Linked DNA regions of Homo sapiens: region 1 is linked to region 2. Evidence: promoter capture Hi-C in 16 types of primary human blood cells and fetal thymus (Javierre and others, 2016). All regions are on one chromosome and are shown on one strand. Each heading gives the region's core, a stretch centred on a gene start or on the middle of the fragment in contact. The rest is flanking DNA. Distances are from core to core; before and after follow the strand shown.

Evidence for each region. The method cuts DNA at HindIII sites, captures the fragments that hold promoters and counts their contacts. A CHiCAGO score of 5 or more calls a contact.
Region 1: a fragment that was not itself captured here is called in contact with the fragment with the promoter of FAIM in region 2 in 3 of 17 cell types (fetal thymus, naive CD8 T cells and total CD4 T cells); the score reaches 5.9 in fetal thymus.

The regions. Positions count from the first base shown.
Region 1 is chr3:136,858,968-136,863,098 of GRCh38, reverse strand. NCK1-DT (NCK1 divergent transcript) reads left to right here and starts at 1,036. Exons shown (of 3, transcript NR_110177.1): 1 at 1,036-1,352. It overlaps NCK1 (NCK adaptor protein 1), which reads right to left and starts at 891. Exons shown (of 4, transcript NM_001291999.2): 1 at 746-891. RefSeq lists enhancers at 23-142, 153-232, 1,293-1,352, 1,913-1,962 and a silencer at 873-932. The HindIII fragment of the contact is 1,182 bases long and covers 1,940-3,121 here.
Region 2 is chr3:138,606,182-138,610,145 of GRCh38, reverse strand. It overlaps FAIM (Fas apoptotic inhibitory molecule), which reads right to left and starts at 1,375. Exons shown (of 6, transcript NM_001033031.2): 1 at 1,209-1,375. RefSeq lists an enhancer at 638-727 and a silencer at 828-1,287. The HindIII fragment of the contact is 4,797 bases long and covers 1-3,964 here.

The DNA.
Region 1 (4,131 bases), core at 1,281-3,780, 1.7 Mb after region 2:
GTTACGTCCTCACCCCTGAACAAAACCCAGCTTCCTGAGCTTCTAACGGCGAATTTAACTTGTATGTTAATACAGAAGAAAGGTTACAAAACCTATCGAAATGGTTTTTTGTTTTACCAAACATATTACAACTCAAGTCAAAAGTTCACAGCCCCAGCAACTCGCGTACGAATCTGAAGCAGGTCCAGACCATTAAAGTCACAGCCCCAGACTAGAAAACGGCCGGTGGGTGGGGGGAGGGGAGAGGGCGCGTCCCGAAGATGTCCACCCGCAGCACCGCGCAGGCTGACGCCTCCCCTCCTCTCGGGCTGGAGGTGAGAGCGCCCTTCCTCCTACCACGTCCCTACCTTCCCGGCCTCGGATTACGCCACAGCTGGCAAAAGGACTTTTTCATGAGAAAACAGACAAGTCAACCAGCGCGCCGCACACTCGACCTCCCAGGCTCGCACGGGCGGCCGCCCGGGCTCTCAGCCCGACACAGCGCTCCAGGGGCTGACAAGGAGGCCGCGGGGTCACGCTCCCTGGGGCAACGGCCCGAGGGTCTCGCGGAATCCCGGTGCAGAAGTCTGGACCCTCCGAGCAGCCTCCGCGCCCCCTCCGGCTCGGCTCCGAGCCTGCAGACGGCGCCCCCGGGGCTAACTCAGCGCGAGAAGAGGAAGCGACGCAGCGAGTAACAGGCTGTATGGACGGACAGCGGACTGAAGGGGGGTGTGTGTGTGTCTGCCTGCCAACAAGGCCGTCTCACCTTCCCGCTGCCGAGCCGGGCAGCTCCAGCTCACCTGAGGAGGGCTCCAGGACGCCACTGCGGCCGCCGTGATGGCCGTAACGGCACGAGGCCTGCGCTCCGCCGCCGCCGCGTAGCTCTTGGGAGAGAGGCGGGGCACGCGCGGTGGGCAGGCGGATCCGCGCGGGCAGGAAACCCACTCTGGACCCAATCTGATAGGTTCAGTCGCCCCCTTCCCCGGTCCCTGACGCGACAACGGTCTCTGCCGCACTGGGATTGGGCGGGCCCTCATGTCAATCAAGCGCCGTGCCTGATGTGGAGGGAGCGGAGGCTGCGCGGCGGAGAGTAGAGAGCTAGAGGGTGAGAAGCGCTGGGCCGGACCAGAACTGTCTTAGCTTTTCCCTCTGCGGCTGCTCTGGTTGGTTACTTTGAGCCTGCCTCCTCAGCGCCGCAGGAGAGACTTAACAGCAAAAATGACTGTGTCCTGAGTTCAGCCCCCACTGCTCTGGGAGCTTCCCCCTGGTTTCTGCACCTGAAGAATGTCATCCCAGCCGAAGGTTCTTAGGAGCGGGGAGCGACAAAGAAAAACAAAGAAAAGCAGACCTGAAAATTGGGACCTGGGAGAAATGTAAGACATGTGCTTAATTTGAGGCACAGACCAAAAGAAGCTGAGTCTGAGGGCCCTCTAAAAGTGTCCTCGTGCTTGGGCAGCTTACATTCTTGGCGGCAGTAGTGTTATGAAGAGGACCTTCGGAGCCAGGTCTGTCCATTCTTAGGGCTCCAGCCACTGGCTGAGGCATCAGTAAGTTGGTTCTTCCCCTCGCCGGTGCTGCAGGCCCCCTTCCCCGCCCCCGCGCCGTAACCTGCCTCTTTTTTTTTTTTTTTTGAAACGAGTTTCGCTCTGTCGCCAGGGTGGAGTGCAGTGGCACGATCTCGGCTCACTGCAACCTCCGCCTCCGGGTTCAAGCTATTCTCCTGCCTCAGCCTCCCGAGTAGCTGGGATTACAGGCATGTACCACCACGCCCAGCTAATGTTTTTGTATTTTTAGCAGTGACGGGGTTTCACCAGGATGGTCTCGATCTCTTGACCTCGTGATTCGCCAGCCTCGGCCTCCCAAAGTGCTGGGATTACAGGCGTGAGCCACCACGCCCAGCCGCCTCATCTCTTCTTAACCATCTTTGTGGCACAGTTTAGGATCGCTCCTCAGGGAAGCTTGCTCAGTTAGGTACCTTCCTTGGAGCACAGGTGTTTTCTCCATCCGAGCTATTGAAATGGTTTGCCTGTATGTCTACCTAGATTGTAAACTCCGTTGAATCAGTAACCATGTCTGTTCAGTTTCTCCCTAGGGCCTTGCAGTAGGGTAGATGGTCAGTAAATACTGTTTAAGGCATTAATACTTTTTATTTTAATCCTGGCCCTGGATATCAGCCTCAAAAGTTTGCAGTTTTCTGCATTTAACTTCAAAATTATTTACGTGATTGGTAATGCATGCATGTGGTTGGCCTGTGCTGTAATTTAGATGTTTGTTCCCCTAAACCTCCTGTTGAAATTTGATCCCCAATGTTGGAGGTGGGGACTAATGGGCAGTGTTGGGTCATGGAGGTGGTTCCTTCAGGAATAGATTAATGTCCTCCCTGGGGAGAGGGTAAATGAGTTCTCTTTATTTCCACCAGAGCTGGTTAAAAAGAACGTCGCACTTCCTTTCTTCTTTTGCGTCCTCTCTGGCCATGTAATCTCTGCACACACCAGCTCTCCTTTGCCTTCTGGCATGAGTAGAAGCAGTCTTAGGCTACCATCAGATGCAGATGCTCAGTCTTGAACTTTTCCAGACATCAGAACCATAAGCCGAAAAACCTTTTCTATTTCTAAATTATCCAGCTTTGGGTATTCCTTTCTAGCAACACTAAAGGGACTAAGACAGCCTGCCATATGTAGGATCACAAGGTCAAGCACAAATTTACCTATTTATGCTGTACTATCCTCAGGTTGACTGGGACAAGTAGACCATGAAACTGGGCAACAGCTACTCTATGTCTACATTCTGTTATTAGCATCCAAAGTGAATAATGGCGGTGAATTTTGAGTTTATTCTAAGGGTTTAAATAACTGCATATTTTATCATGACTGGTATGGACTGAATTGCATCCCCCCCAAAAATTCATACTGAAGCCCTCACTCCTAATGTGACTATATAAATGTTCCTTAACTTACAAAGGGGTTATGTTCCAATAAACCCACCATAAACTGAAAATACCTTAAGTTGAAAAGATCTTAAGTCAGAAATGCATTTAATGCTTCTAACCTACCAAACATCATAGCTTAGAGTAGCCTACCTAAAACATGCTCAGAATACTTACATTAGCTTTCAGTTAGGCAAAATCATCTAATACAAAGCTTATTTTTTAATAAAGTATTGAGTATTTCATGTAATCTACTAAATACTGAATGAAAAACTGGATGGTTTTATGGGTACTCAAAGTACAGATTCTAGAGTGCATATGGCTTTTGGACCATCATAAAGTCAAAAAAATCTTAAGTCAGGGACCATCTCTAGTTGGAGCTAGGCCTTTAGGGAGGTAATAAAAATTAAATTAGGTCATAAGGGTGGGGCCCTAATCCCATAAGATTAATGTCTTTATAGAAAGTGGCACCAGAGAGCTCTCTCCATTTGAGAACACAGCAAGCAGACAGACATCTGCAAGCCAGAGAGAGAGCCCTCACCCAAAACTGACCATGCTGGCACCCTCTTTTGGACCTCCCAACCTACATAACTTTGAAAAAATAAACTTCTGTTGTGTAAGCCACCCAATCTAGTATTTTATTATGGCAGCCCAAGCTAATACAATGGTTTTATTTGTTGATACATTTTATAAAGTTTACAGACTGAGATATTATATTCATTTTTGAAGAAACTTGTCCAGAGTTAAAACTGTTGCTGCAAAATCACCCATCAAACTGTTAGCACAGCGTGACTCAATTTTAATTCTAATTACATATTTAACATACGATGGAGGCAGAAGGTGTGAATATAAATACAACAGGTAAAATACAGAAATACAGTTCTTGCCTTCATGTAGCTTACCACCACCTTAAGTGGGGAAAATTAACCCAGCAAAAAGTATGCTGAAGTCATACATTTAGGGTTTTTGTTTGTTTGTTTGTTTTTTGAGATGGAGTCTCGCTTTTTTGCCCAGGTTGGAGTGCAGTGGCACCACCTCAGCTTATTGCAACCTCCACCTCCCGGGTTCAAGCAATTCTCCTGCCTCAGCCTCCCAAGTTGCTGGGACTACAGGCACACACCACCACACCTGGCTAATTTTTTGTATTTTTAGTAGAGACGGGGTTTCACAATGTTGGCCAGGCTTGTCTCAAACCCCTGACCTCAGGTGATCCACCCACCTCAGCC
Region 2 (3,964 bases), core at 126-2,625:
TGATAGTAGTTACTAAGATGCTCATGGTTCCCTTTTCAGCAAAGGCCCCCAGGTAGGGCCAGCCAATAATGCAAGTCACACTCAAGTGTTGACATCTTCATCTCCGGGCCGGCCCCTTATGAAGTGAGGGGGGTCTCCAGTAAAATCACTCAGGAAGCTCCTCGAGCCAAGTATTCCCAAATGCTACTTACTGGAGGTACAAAAAGGAGAATAACTTTTCTGAGGGCCATTTCACAATCTATACCAGAAGCCTTGTGGTATAGACCGTGGATTCTATCTTGTTTTAGAACGAATCTTGTGCGATTCTTTCTACAGAAATGATCACGCTCAAAAACCCAGATACAACGATGCTCAATGAATTACTTTTTGCAATAACTAAAAACTGAAAACCACTTGTACGCTCACCATCAGGGAGAAACTACATTTAGTAAATCACAGTCCAAAGCCATGCCAAGAGTCAGGGATGGATGAGGTAGTCAACCTGACACACAGGAATGTACAGTCGAGAGAGAGAGAGAGAGAGAGAGAGAGTCGAGAGAGAGAGAGAGAGAGTCGAGAGAGAGAGAGTCGAGAGAGAGAGAGAGAGAGAGAGAGAGAGAGAGAGAGAGAGAGTTTCAGCACTTTATGATGCAGGTTCTGCAAAAACAAGCCCCGCTCATGTTACAAGGAAAAACCATCTGGAAGAATATACACCCTCATGTTAACGCAGCTTGTCTCTGGGGAGCAGCGGCACGGCTGCTTTGCTTGCTTCCTTGCTTTCTGTTCCACGTTTTCGACAGTGAGAAGTATTATCTTTAGAGGTCGCGAACAGGCCGGAGGAGGGTGCGGCAGGTCGCGGGGCAGGGCCTCGCTAGGCAGGGACGCCCCCGCACCGCCCCGGGCTGGCCCCGCGCCCCGCGCCCCGCCGCACCTCCACCTTTGCCGGCGGTGAGCGGGAGCCGCGTCCCGCCCCGAGGTCTGGGATCACCGGCGGGCCGGCTGGAAGCGTCCGGAACTCACCCAGCGTCTCACCCGCGCGGGTCTCACCGACCGCGCAAACACCGCCCGCCGCCGCCGCCCAGAGATGGCCGCCGCCGGCGCAGCAGGGCCGAGAGCGTGGGGACGCCGGGGGGCTGAGTGCAGGGGTTTCCAGGGTGCGGAGCGGGCGGGCCCGAGGCGTCCGGGCGGGCGCAGGCGCGACACCGACCCCACCCGGTCTGCTGCCTCACCTGTGCTCTGTGGGCCGCGGGAGGCTCTGGGGTAGGTTTCACCAAACAACCGGTTGGTTCCGACTCGGCTGCGTAGGCCGCGTGGCCTTGCTCCCCTGGCCGAGAAACAGGCGCAGCCGGCGCGGAGGTTGAAAGCTCTGCAGGCGCGAGTACCAAACGCGCCGACTGTTTGTCGCGCCTCTCAGGTCCCCTGGGGCGACCAGCGCAGGAGGCCACCCCTCCCGCCGCCACGGACCCAACCCTGGTCCTCTGCCTTAGCCGAAGGCCGCACCCTCCGCGCATAGGCCTTCCTCAGCCCCAACCCAGGACATCACCATGTCCCGCAGTGCGTCCAGTCTTCCTGCCAGCAAGTGTGGGTAGGAGCCGGCCGCTGGCCCCGCTCTGGGCTAGACGGTGGGGACATACTGGCGGGCAAAAACAGCCCTGTGCCTGCTCTGCAGCTATGGGGAAGGAATATCTGTTCATGGCAGCAATAGCATTCGCTCCTTAAAACCTCTTTATGAGTCTCATTCCTTTTTTAAAGACCCAAACTACTTAAGGTGGGCATGAAGCCCCCATGTGTGATCTAGCCTCTGCCTGCTTGGCTTCATTTAGGTCCTTAAAGGATGCAGGTTTCTTCTCGCCCAGGGCCTCTGCAAATGCTCTTCTCTCTGCCTGGACACTCCTCACCTCTTCCCTATTGTGAGAGTTCTTCATATATCATTTCTTAGATTACACTATCCTGGCCCATAAGACTTGCAGCATTGCTGGGTGTGGTGGCTCATACCTGTAATCACGGCATTTTGGGAGGCAGAGTGGCGGATCTCTTGAGTCCAGGAGTTCAAGACCAGCCTGGGCAACATGGTAAAAAAAAAAAAAAAGAGAGAGAGAGAATGAGAAAGAAGAAAAGAAAATAATTAGCGGCTCAGGCCTGTAATCCTAGCTACTTGGGACGCTGAGGTGGGAGAATTGCTTGGGCCCTGAAGGGAGGTAGAGGCTGCAGAGAGCTGTGATTGCACCACTACACTCCAGCCTGGGCAACAGAGCGAGACCCTGTTTCATTAAAAAAAACACACACAAAAAGAAACAGCCGGGCTCAGTGGCTCACGCCTGTAATCCCAGCACTTTGGGATGCTGAGGCAGGCATGGCAAAACCCCGTCACTACTGAAAATATAAAACTTAGAGGGGCGTGGTGGTGCATGCCTGTAGTCCCAACTACTTGGGAGGCTGAGGCAGGAGAATCGCTTCAACCTGGGAGGTGGAGGTTGGAGTGAGCTGAGATTGAGCCACTGCACTCCAGCCTGGGCGAAGAGCAAGACTCTGTCTCAAAAAAAAAAAAAAAAAAAAACAGCCGGGCACAGTGGCTTACACCTGTAATCCCAGCACTCTGGGAGGCCAGGTGCGGATTGCCTGAGGTCAGAAGTTTGAGACCAGCCTGGCCAACGTGGTGAAACCCTAGCTCTACTAAAAATACAAAAATTAGCCGGGCGTGGTGGCATGCGTCTGTAATCCCAGCTACTCAGGAGGCTGAGGCAGGAGAATCACTTGACCTTGGGAGGTGGCAGTTGCAGCGAACTGAGATCGCCTCACTGTACTGCAGCCTGAGCCACAGAGTGATACTTCGTCTCAAAAACAAAAACAAAAAAAACACAAAAATTGCAGCACCAGGGATTCTTCTTCCTAGCCCCTTTCAGGGTGTGCAATAATTTGTGTAATTTTTGCTTAATGTGTAACTTAACAGTAGACTGAGATCCATGAAGGCAGAGACCATGGCCGCTTGGCTCTCATTCTTGTATGTCTCACATCTGTACCGTGCAGGCCCATGTTAGCTCTGGTAAATATTTATTAAATGAATGAATGAATGAAGAGCAGGCCTGGGTAGTGTCTTAGGTGGCCTTGATTTTCAATTTAAGGAGGAGACAGTGTTGCCTACAGAGAGCGAGAAAAGTTGTTGAGTGGGCCATGTGAGGAGCAGTGAATGGTCCCTGTGGAGAGTAGGCCCAGTCATAGAATAGAGATAAGTGAAGGGATTTTGGAGGGTTTTGAGGGCCCAGCATATTTGGGGGCTGCTATGGTTTGGATGCTGGTATCTCCCCAAAATTCATATGTTGAAACCTAAGACCCAACACATTCATATTAACAGGATGGATCCTTTGTGGGGGAAATTGGTGCCCTTGTGAAAGAGGCTTGAGGGAGCCTGTTTGATCCTTCTGCCATGTGTGGATGCTCTGAGAAGGCACCATGTTTGAAGCAGAGAACAAGCCCTTAGCAGACTGTGACTCTGCTGGAGCCTTGATCTTGGATATCCCAGCCTCCAGAACTGTGAGCAATACAATTCTACTGTTTATAAATTACCCAGTCTAAGTTGTTGTATTTTTGTTGTTTTTTTTTTTTTTTTTTTTTGAGACAGGGTTTTATTCCAGGCTGGAGTGCAGTGGCATGATCACAGCTCACTGCAGCCATGATCCATGTCCTGGGCTCAAGCGATCCTGCTACCTCAGCCTCTAAAGGAGCTGGGACTATGGCTACATGCCACCACACCCGGCTAATATTTTAAAATTTTTTTATAGACACAGGGTCCCACTATGTTGCCCAGGCTGGTCTCAAATTCCTGGGCTCAAGCAATTCTCCAACCTTGGCCTTCCAAAGTGCTGGGATTACAGGCATGAGCAACTGAACCTAGCCTTTCTCCTGCTCCTCCTCCTTCCTCCTTCTTGCTTCTTTCTTCTTCTTCTTCCTCTTCCTTTCTTCTTCTTCTTTTTTGAGTATTTTTATC